Linked DNA regions of Homo sapiens: all the other regions are linked to region 3. Evidence: promoter capture Hi-C in human tissues and cell types (Jung and others, 2019). All regions are on one chromosome and are shown on one strand. The core of a region is centred on a gene start or on the middle of the fragment in contact, and the rest is flanking DNA. Distances in the headings are between cores, read along the strand shown. Region 1 overlaps FBXO31 (F-box protein 31). Region 2 overlaps ZCCHC14 (zinc finger CCHC-type containing 14). Region 3 holds the start of JPH3 (junctophilin 3).

Region 1 (2,700 bases), core at 164-2,663, 240 kb before region 3:
CACTACAAAAAACTGAAAAATTAACCAGGCATGGTGGCACACGCCTCTAGTCCCAGCTACTAGGGAGGCTGAGGCAGGAGGATCGCTTCAGCCCAGGAGTTCAAGGATACAATGAGCTGTAATTGTGCCACTGCACTCCAACCTGGGCAACAAGACAGACCCTGTCTCAAAAAAAAAAAGTGGAGACAGCATTAAATTCCTATAACTGTGGCTTAGAAAAATTTCCAGAGCTCCATCAAAAGAATTCGGTTCTTTTTTTTTTTTTTTTTTTGAGACAGAGTCTCGCTCTTGTCTCCCAGGCTGGAGTGCAATGGCGTGATCTCGGCTCACTGCAACCTTCACCTCCCGGGTTCAAGCGATTCCCCCACCTCAGCCTCTGGGTACCTGGGATTACAAGCACACGCCACCACACCCAGCTAATTTTTGTACTTTTAGTAGAGATGAGTTTCACCATGTTGGCCAGACAGGTCTCGAACTCCTGACCTCAGATGATCCACCTGCCTCGGCCTCCCAAAGCACTGGGATTACAGGCATTAGCCACCATGTCTGGCCAAAAAGAAGAATTAAGTTCTAAAGAGTCAACTGTTAGCCAGGCACGGTACCTCATGCCTGTAATCCCAGAACTCTGGGAGGCCGAGATGGGCAGATCACTTGAGACCAGCCTGGCCAACATGATGAAACCCCATCTCTACTAAAAATACAAAAAAATTTGCTGGGCATGGTGGTGTATGCCTGTAATCCTAGCTACCTGGGAGGCTGAGGTGGCAGTATTACTTGAACCGAGGAGGCAGAGGTTGTGACACTGCACTCCAGCTTGGGTGACAGAGTGAGACTCTGCCTCAAAAAAAAAAAAGGAGTCAACTGTTGCTACCTGCCTTTGTCTATTGAGGGTATATGCATATGTGATTTTTAATTCACATAGGCTATTAAAATGTGATTAAAACTAATAAAGGTCAGAAGTCAAATATTCATATTTCACTTTAGAATAAAATTTTAAAGCTTCTACTCTGTTCGTTCCTCTCTGTGTCTGCAGTAGCTCCTCAATAAACGATACATGTGAAAATGTGCATTAAAGTGATCTCGACTGGTAGTACCCAGAAACCACTGCAGAAAGGTAAGCCAAATGCAGCCTGGGTCCAACACACAGGTGTGATCTCTGTCACAGCTGAAGCAGAGCCACGCTGCAGCAAGTGAACGTGAAAGGATGACAAAAAGCCACGAGGTCCGCTTGCTCCAGGACCAAAGCTGTCCCATGTGTGAATCAGAGGGCCCTCCCCATGCAGTTCTTGGCCGTGCTGGCTGCCGCAGAAGCCAAAGCTCGCAGGAGGTACATACGGCAGGTGTAAACGTCTCTGTACGCCATGTGCTCATAATCAGGGAGAATTTTCACAAAACGTCCCGACTTCACGCGAGGGTTTATACCTGAACAGACACAGCAGGGAAAGGGCTAAGGATGGCTCCCTTTACAGGACTGTGCAAACAGCGTGAATACGACCCAATGCCTGCCCCTCACCAGTGTGATACAATCCCCTCGTGTTTATGCAGCCACCCAGGACACAGAGAGGTGGCTCTGAGAAACCTGCTGGAGAGAACAACACTGTGACACGTTTTCCTTCCATCAGTGGTGCCACCAGAAACTCACGGTGGCAGCAAGCTTGGAAATCCTTTCCATATTTGATCACACTCCTCCCGGGGCCAGCACACTCCCGGCAGGCCCCAGGCCACAGCTCACTGGGGCTCAGGAGGTGGGAGGGCAGGTGTCCTGGCAGGTGAGCATCTGGGATGACCGTCTAGAGAACACTTACCCCGGCTAACATACTCACTTTGCCCAGCACCCACCTGGCGTTTCCCAGCCTGCTAACTCAGGCCAGCCTCGTCACAGGTCATCCAAGGTTGCCCAACTACACCACCCGTTTCTGGAGCTAAGGCTGATTTTCTTCCACCACCTGTTCCCAAAGCTAAGTAATTTTCTCCTGGATAAGCCTTAAAGCAAATTCACAGAAACACAGTTGCTGCGCTGTGAAAATGAACACTGACATTTGCTTTGGCCACTGCAGACTAACACTGCGGGGAATAAACACTGTCGGAAACAGATCATGTGAATTCTCCGCATTTTGCAAACACTTTCAAGGGGTCAAGAATCAGCAGTGAAAAGAAATCTCCCAATGCCCTGTCCTCCTATCCCCTCTTCTGTGCCCACCCCCTGCCCTACCCTCGGCCACACTGCCTCCTGCCTGCCTATGCCCGGATGGCCTCTCCCACAGGACAGGAGGACTCAGTGCTCAGGCAACACCTCCGACCCCCACAGCTGGAAGGAGCATCCATGTGTACACTCCTATGGCTGTTACAGGAAACCCTAACACCTGGGCAGGCCAAACACCTGTGTCCCTACCGGGACATGACTTTTGGTGCTGACAACTCTTAGAGAGAAATATGTCTTCATGTCACTTTGAGATGATATGACCCAAATGGCCTAAGAAACTCAAAGAGCAACTGCCTTGCAGAAATGAAAAAGAAAAAAGAAAAGAAGCTCAAAGAATGGTCAGAAGATGAAAACGTGGGGTATGAGACACTCACAGAAACCCTCTGACCATCCAAAAAAGCCAAGAGCTTCGTCCAGTGAGCAAGAAATGGGAAAGTCCCTGGCACTGAAGAAACACCCGCGGGAAGACAGCCTGGGGCCAAGGAGCCTCTGCCTGA
Region 2 (2,700 bases), core at 118-2,617, 150 kb before region 3:
TCAATAGATTACATGAGTCAAAACTTCACTATGAAGTGGGCTGTGTGTTAGATAATTTTGCCCACCTGCAGGCTAATGCAAGCGTTCTGAGCACATTTAAGGTAGGCTAGGCTAAGCCATGATGTGTAGCAGGTGTGGTGTATTCACTGCATTGCAACTTGTGGTATTTTCAACTTGCAGCCCCCACTGTAAGTTGAAAAGCATCTATGCGGTAAAATGGAACTGTCTAATCTAGGTGAAGGGTACTCACTGTGAAACTTTTTCAACTTTACCGTGTGTTTCAAAGTCCTCATAATAAAATGTTAGATAAAGAACCCATAAGGAAATTGAAACTATCAAGGCTTCTCGATTTCGGCTACACACTGGAATCCCAGCACAACCCAGGAAAGGCCACAGACTGTGGGCATTTTAGAATTTAGATTTTAGGGCTGGGCGCAGTGGCTCACGCCTGTAATCCCAGCACTTTGGGAAGCCGAGGCGGGCGGATCACGAGGTCAGGAGATCGAGACTATCCTGGCTAACACGGTGAAACCACGTCTCTACTAAAAATATAAAAAAATAGCCGGGCGTGGTGGCCGGCACCTGTAGCCCCAGCAGCTACTCCGGAGGCTGAGGCAAGAGAATGGCGTGAACCCGGGAGGCGGAGGTTGCAGTGAGCTGTGATTGCGCCACTGCACTCCAGCCTGGGCGACAGAGCAAGACTCTGTCTCCAAAAAAAAAAAAAAAAAAAAAAAAAAAAAATTTAGATTTTAGGTGAATTCTTGTCTTCTTAGAATTCATGTTCTAATTGGTTGGGATAGATTTTGTTTTGGAGTTTGGTCTTTAGCTCTCTTCAGCTGTAACAACGCTGCATGGCAAACACAAACCCCAGGGGCACACAATGGAAAACATTCATTTAAAATAATTTTTAAAAACTCAGTTTTAATCGATAATATGGTAAATACCTATAGATGTGACCCACATAAACATGGATTCTTTGGAATCTCTAATTTTTAAGAGTGCAAAGGGGTCCTAAGACCAAAAAGATTGAAAACTACTGGTATATAAACAAGTTTAATGAAAGTATACCTCCTTCACTGTCTCACAAAAAGAAAACTTTAAAAAATTATAATTCCTCAAAGTCCAAAGTTACAGAACTTACTTTGTTGAGAGTATTAGTAAAAGCAGTTTCCATCTCAGCTTGTACACTACAACAGCTTCCCTAAGTTTCAGTAAATCATCAACACAGGGACTGGAGCGCTGGAGAGTGCACCGCAGTTCTCAGCCACACCCACGAGGGGCAGGGGGCTCAGAAGCCACACACAGTGACCTGGAGCTGCAGCCAGGCACTGGGTACGGGGTTTACTAGGCTACAATCTCTACTCCTGAACTGGAAAATGTTCACAATAAATAGGTCAGGAAAAAAAGGAATGATTTCACTGGTTAATGTGTACTCATAGGCACTGCCCACACAACGGTGTGTTTTCCACTTTCAGTACAGTCCCACCTTTCTTTTCCTCTGCTATTTTCTTCAGCCAGCCACAGGGTTAAGAGCATTAGCTCTGGCTTTGAATCCCAGCTGACCTCAGGAAAATTTCTTATCTGTGACTCAGTTCTCCCATCTGTAAAATGGGGTAAAAATCACCACATGGGATCAGTTAGAATTAAATAGGTATAATCAGCCCTCAAAGGGCTGTTATGAAGATGATGTAAGTCAGTATCTGTCATGTAAGTTAGTCATGTGCTTGGACTGTTGTTCAAGTATATAAAAGCTTCCCTAACCTTTTACATACTAAGAAATTTTTTAAATGTCTGACCACTCTATAAATTAAACTGTATCACTGTAAGACTTCTGAAGAAGCAGAGAAAAACCAAAACAGAAGTAGGATACAGAAAAGACAGAGAGAAAACTTTATAGTAATAAAACTATACAACTTACTGTGACTTTAGACTTTCTGAAGGGCAATAACCTGCACCCAACAGAATATTAAAAGGATTCACATGAAAAGTGACTAAGAAAACCAAGTTAACTCACTTGCCAATTTCCGGACAACAGAAACCGCGACCCTCTATGACTAATGAATGGAGAATGCTGCAGGTAATTAAGAGCGTCTGCTCGCTGCGGTATTTTAAGCACTGTGGGGTTTGAGAATGACCACTCGTGGCCTCAGAGCCGACCCGCCAGCCTACGCAGGCTTTGCCACAGCTCACATGAGAGTCAGCTCACCCTCTGTCTCTCTGGGCACCAAAGCATGCAGACGAGACAATGACAGATACTCGCTACTTTGAAATTATACAGAAAAAAAAAAAAAAGAATGGGGATGTCAATAATTACATCCTGAAGAAAAAGCACTGAAGGGTCCATCCCTTAAGATTCACAGGGTGTGCAGGGCACAGGTTCCTAGGCTGGACTGTCTGGGGACAAAGGAAGCGGCACTCCACGGCAGGCCTTTCTCCTGGGATGGCATGGGGGAAGGAAGAGGAGGAGCCCTTTCTACAGCGGAGGGACTCCCTGCAATTCCGACGCCAAGTGTCCGCTCTGGGGTTGGAGCATCGCGGCATCACCAGGATGAGGGTGCGGTGAAGACGCTCAACCAAGAGCCACAGACCCTCCCAAGAGCAGTGGATAAGACAAAGACTGTTGCGACCTCAGGGGGTTGCTACGAGGGTCAAGTGGGGACAGGAGCCCTCGCAGGGCTGCAGTAAGGAGTTACTGTCTCC
Region 3 (2,700 bases), core at 90-2,589:
AAAACAAAGCCGACCGCCCTAAATGTTCCTCATTGACAGTGGGTGTATGAGGAGGTGACTGTCCTCCTGGCTGCTGGTACTCTGGGGAGGGAGCTTTGGTGCCCAAGGCAAGAGACTGAGGTTGAACTCTGGGACTCCCAGGAGGGGCTGATTTTTCTGAGAGCCCCGTGAGCCAAGAGTGGGGACCATCCTGATTCTCTCGGACAGGGGAAGATCTGAGCAGGGCTCCTGGCTGATTGGAGGCTCCGAATCGCACCTCTTCTCCTGTCCTAATCTCAGGCTCCAGGCCTGGCTTGCAGTTTCTGGCTCACCGCGCTGCGGTCACCGGCCCACACTCCCAGGAGCGAGGACCCTGGGCAGCCTCCACACCCCCATCAGCCCACTGCACCGGTCTGCTGCCATTTCCCGCACGCATTTCAGGAGGGCTGGGGACGCCGGCTTCTGCCTGAGGATTTATGGTCCAGGAAATGCATTTTAAATGGATCCCAGGATGCTCGGATCCAAGAATCAGACTCTCTCTTGTGCGTGGGAAGAGGGGCGGAGGGTGAGAGTATGTCTGGAGAGAGACCTAGAAACGCCCGAATGGCGGTCCCACTTTGCTCCCCAAAAGCGCGACCGTTCCCCGAGTGGGGGGGCGCTACCTGTTGGCCAGGGCGCAGGGCGCACGGAATTCGGGTGACTTTGCTCCAAGATACACGCGTGTGTCCCGACTCTCACTCAATTTATAGGGGAGAGGGACTCGCCAAATCCCTGTTTTCTGGGGTAAGCCCCCCTCCCCCCACTCTTGGACCCAAGCTGCCCGGAAGGAAGAAGGAAGCATTGTTTGTCACCGGAGAAAACCACCTGTGGTTTGCAAAGGGCCTCAGTCGAGTCAGGGGCAGGCGGGGCAGATCCGAGCCCGGCGGGAGGGGCGAGGCGCGGGGGCGGGCAGGGGCGAGGGTAGGGGCGCTCAGCTGGCAGGTCCTGCTCTGCAGGCCTCACCGCCCAGCTCCCGGGAGGGGGCCGAGGGCGCCCTGAGTGCTGCGCGCCTTCCCATGACGCAGTTCCTGTGCCTTTAAATCCCACTCCCGGAGGGGGCGGGGGCGCCCCGGCTGGACCCCGGTTTCCAGTCCGGCGGGGGCCCCGGGGAAGCCCAGGGCGGGGAGCGCGGGGCTGGGGGCGCGGAGGGCGGGGCGCCCGGGGTCCCCGCCCGCGCGCCGCGCCCTAGCCTGCTGGGCCGCGCCCCTCTTGGGACCGCCGCGCTCCGGGGGCGGGGGCGGGGGCGGGGGCGGGGGGCGGGGGGCGGGGGGCGGGCGGGGGCGCGCGGGCGGGCGGGGTGCGGGCGCGCGCCGCGCGGCCCGAGCGCGCGAGCCGGGCCCGGAGCGCACGCCGCCGCCGCCACCGCCGCCGCCGCCGCCCGAGCCGCCGCATTGCTGCTGCTGCTGCCGCCGCCGCCCCGCGCCCGGCCCGCGGCCCCCAATATGGTGCAGCCGCCAGCGCCGCCGCCCGTGCCGCCGCCGCCGCCCGCGGGCCCCGCCGCCGCCCTCGGGCGCCCGCAGCGCGGCAGCCGCAGGTGGGGGGCCGCGGCCCGGGCCTGAGCTGCCCCCCGCCCGGCCTCGGCGCGGCGCCCTCCCCGCGGGGCTGCCGGCGAGGGGCCCTCTCGCCGCTGAGGTGGAGCCGCGGGCCCCGCCGCCGCCGCTCCTGCCCCCTCCCTCCCTCCTCCCCTCCCCCTCCCCTCCGGTCCTGTCTCCAGCGGGAGCGCGAGACGCTGGTCAGGCTCCGCGGCGCAGCTCGAAAAGGAATAATCGCCCCCGATTGACTGAAATTCCTCCGGAGCCGGCGCCGCGGCCGCCCGCGCCCGAGACCGCGCTCCGGGGCCGCGTCCTCCTCTCCTCCGGAAAACGCTCGCGACCCAGGGCCGCCGGCGGCCGCGACTCTGCTGTGTCGATCGCCTGAGTCCGTTTTCACCGTTTGCGGGATCTGGAACCGAGTTACATGCATGTCCAGTGGGGGCAGGTTTAATTTTGACGACGGAGGGTCCTACTGTGGAGGCTGGGAGGACGGCAAGGCGCACGGCCATGGCGTCTGCACCGGCCCCAAGGGCCAAGGCGAATACACCGGCTCGTGGAGCCACGGCTTCGAGGTGCTGGGCGTCTACACCTGGCCCAGCGGCAACACGTACCAGGGCACCTGGGCGCAGGGCAAGCGCCACGGCATCGGCCTGGAGAGCAAGGGGAAGTGGGTGTACAAGGGCGAGTGGACGCACGGATTCAAGGGGCGCTACGGGGTGCGGGAGTGCGCGGGCAACGGGGCCAAATACGAAGGGACCTGGAGCAACGGGCTGCAGGACGGCTACGGGACCGAGACCTACTCGGACGGAGGTAGGTGCCGCGGGCCGGGCCGGGCCGGGGCGGGAGGGACGTGCTTCCGATCGCGCCCCTTCTGTGGATCTCTGGGGAAGTTGAGCTGCGTCCTCCGGTTGGGCCGTGGGCACCAGGGGCCTTTCCCGGGCTTCCCTGGAAGCCACGGCGGCTCCTGGCTACAGGTTGCCCCGCTGCCTGGTGGGGACAGTGCCCCTGTGCCAGCTGAAGGGTGTTGGGGGCTTTCCAGGGGCAGAGCCAGGCGGGGCCCAGCAGAGCCTCCGTGCGTCGGACACAGCAGGCCGGAGACCTGCGGGAAGGGCCAGGCTGGGCCCGCGGCCCTGGGGAACCCAGCAAGGGC

What was found. Contacts are between HindIII fragments. The study calls those that stand out against the background at their distance.
Region 1: a fragment that was not itself captured here is called in contact with the fragment with the promoter of JPH3 in region 3 in 2 of the 25 tissues and cell types used here (H1 embryonic stem cells and IMR-90 fibroblasts).
Region 2: a fragment that was not itself captured here is called in contact with the fragment with the promoter of JPH3 in region 3 in 2 of the 25 tissues and cell types used here (IMR-90 fibroblasts and small bowel).

Annotation. Positions count from the first base shown.
Region 1 is chr16:87,357,076-87,359,775 of GRCh38, forward strand. All of the region lies in intron 2 of FBXO31 (F-box protein 31), which reads right to left. Among named protein-coding and RNA genes, the nearest start is that of FBXO31, 25 kb to the right of the region's middle. The HindIII fragment of the contact is 3,111 bases long and covers 1-2,700 here.
Region 2 is chr16:87,455,823-87,458,522 of GRCh38, forward strand. All of the region lies in intron 2 of ZCCHC14 (zinc finger CCHC-type containing 14), which reads right to left. Among named protein-coding and RNA genes, the nearest start is that of ZCCHC14, 36 kb to the right of the region's middle. RefSeq lists an enhancer at 1,351-2,550. The HindIII fragment of the contact is 7,552 bases long and covers 1-2,700 here.
Region 3 is chr16:87,601,169-87,603,868 of GRCh38, forward strand. JPH3 (junctophilin 3) reads left to right here and starts at 1,340. Exons shown (of 5, transcript NM_020655.4): 1 at 1,340-2,360. The coding sequence starts at 1,979. LOC124903750 (a long non-coding RNA gene) reads right to left here and starts at 1,015. Exons shown (of 2, transcript XR_007065172.1): 1 at 844-1,015. RefSeq lists an enhancer at 1-441. The HindIII fragment of the contact is 15,663 bases long and covers 1-2,700 here.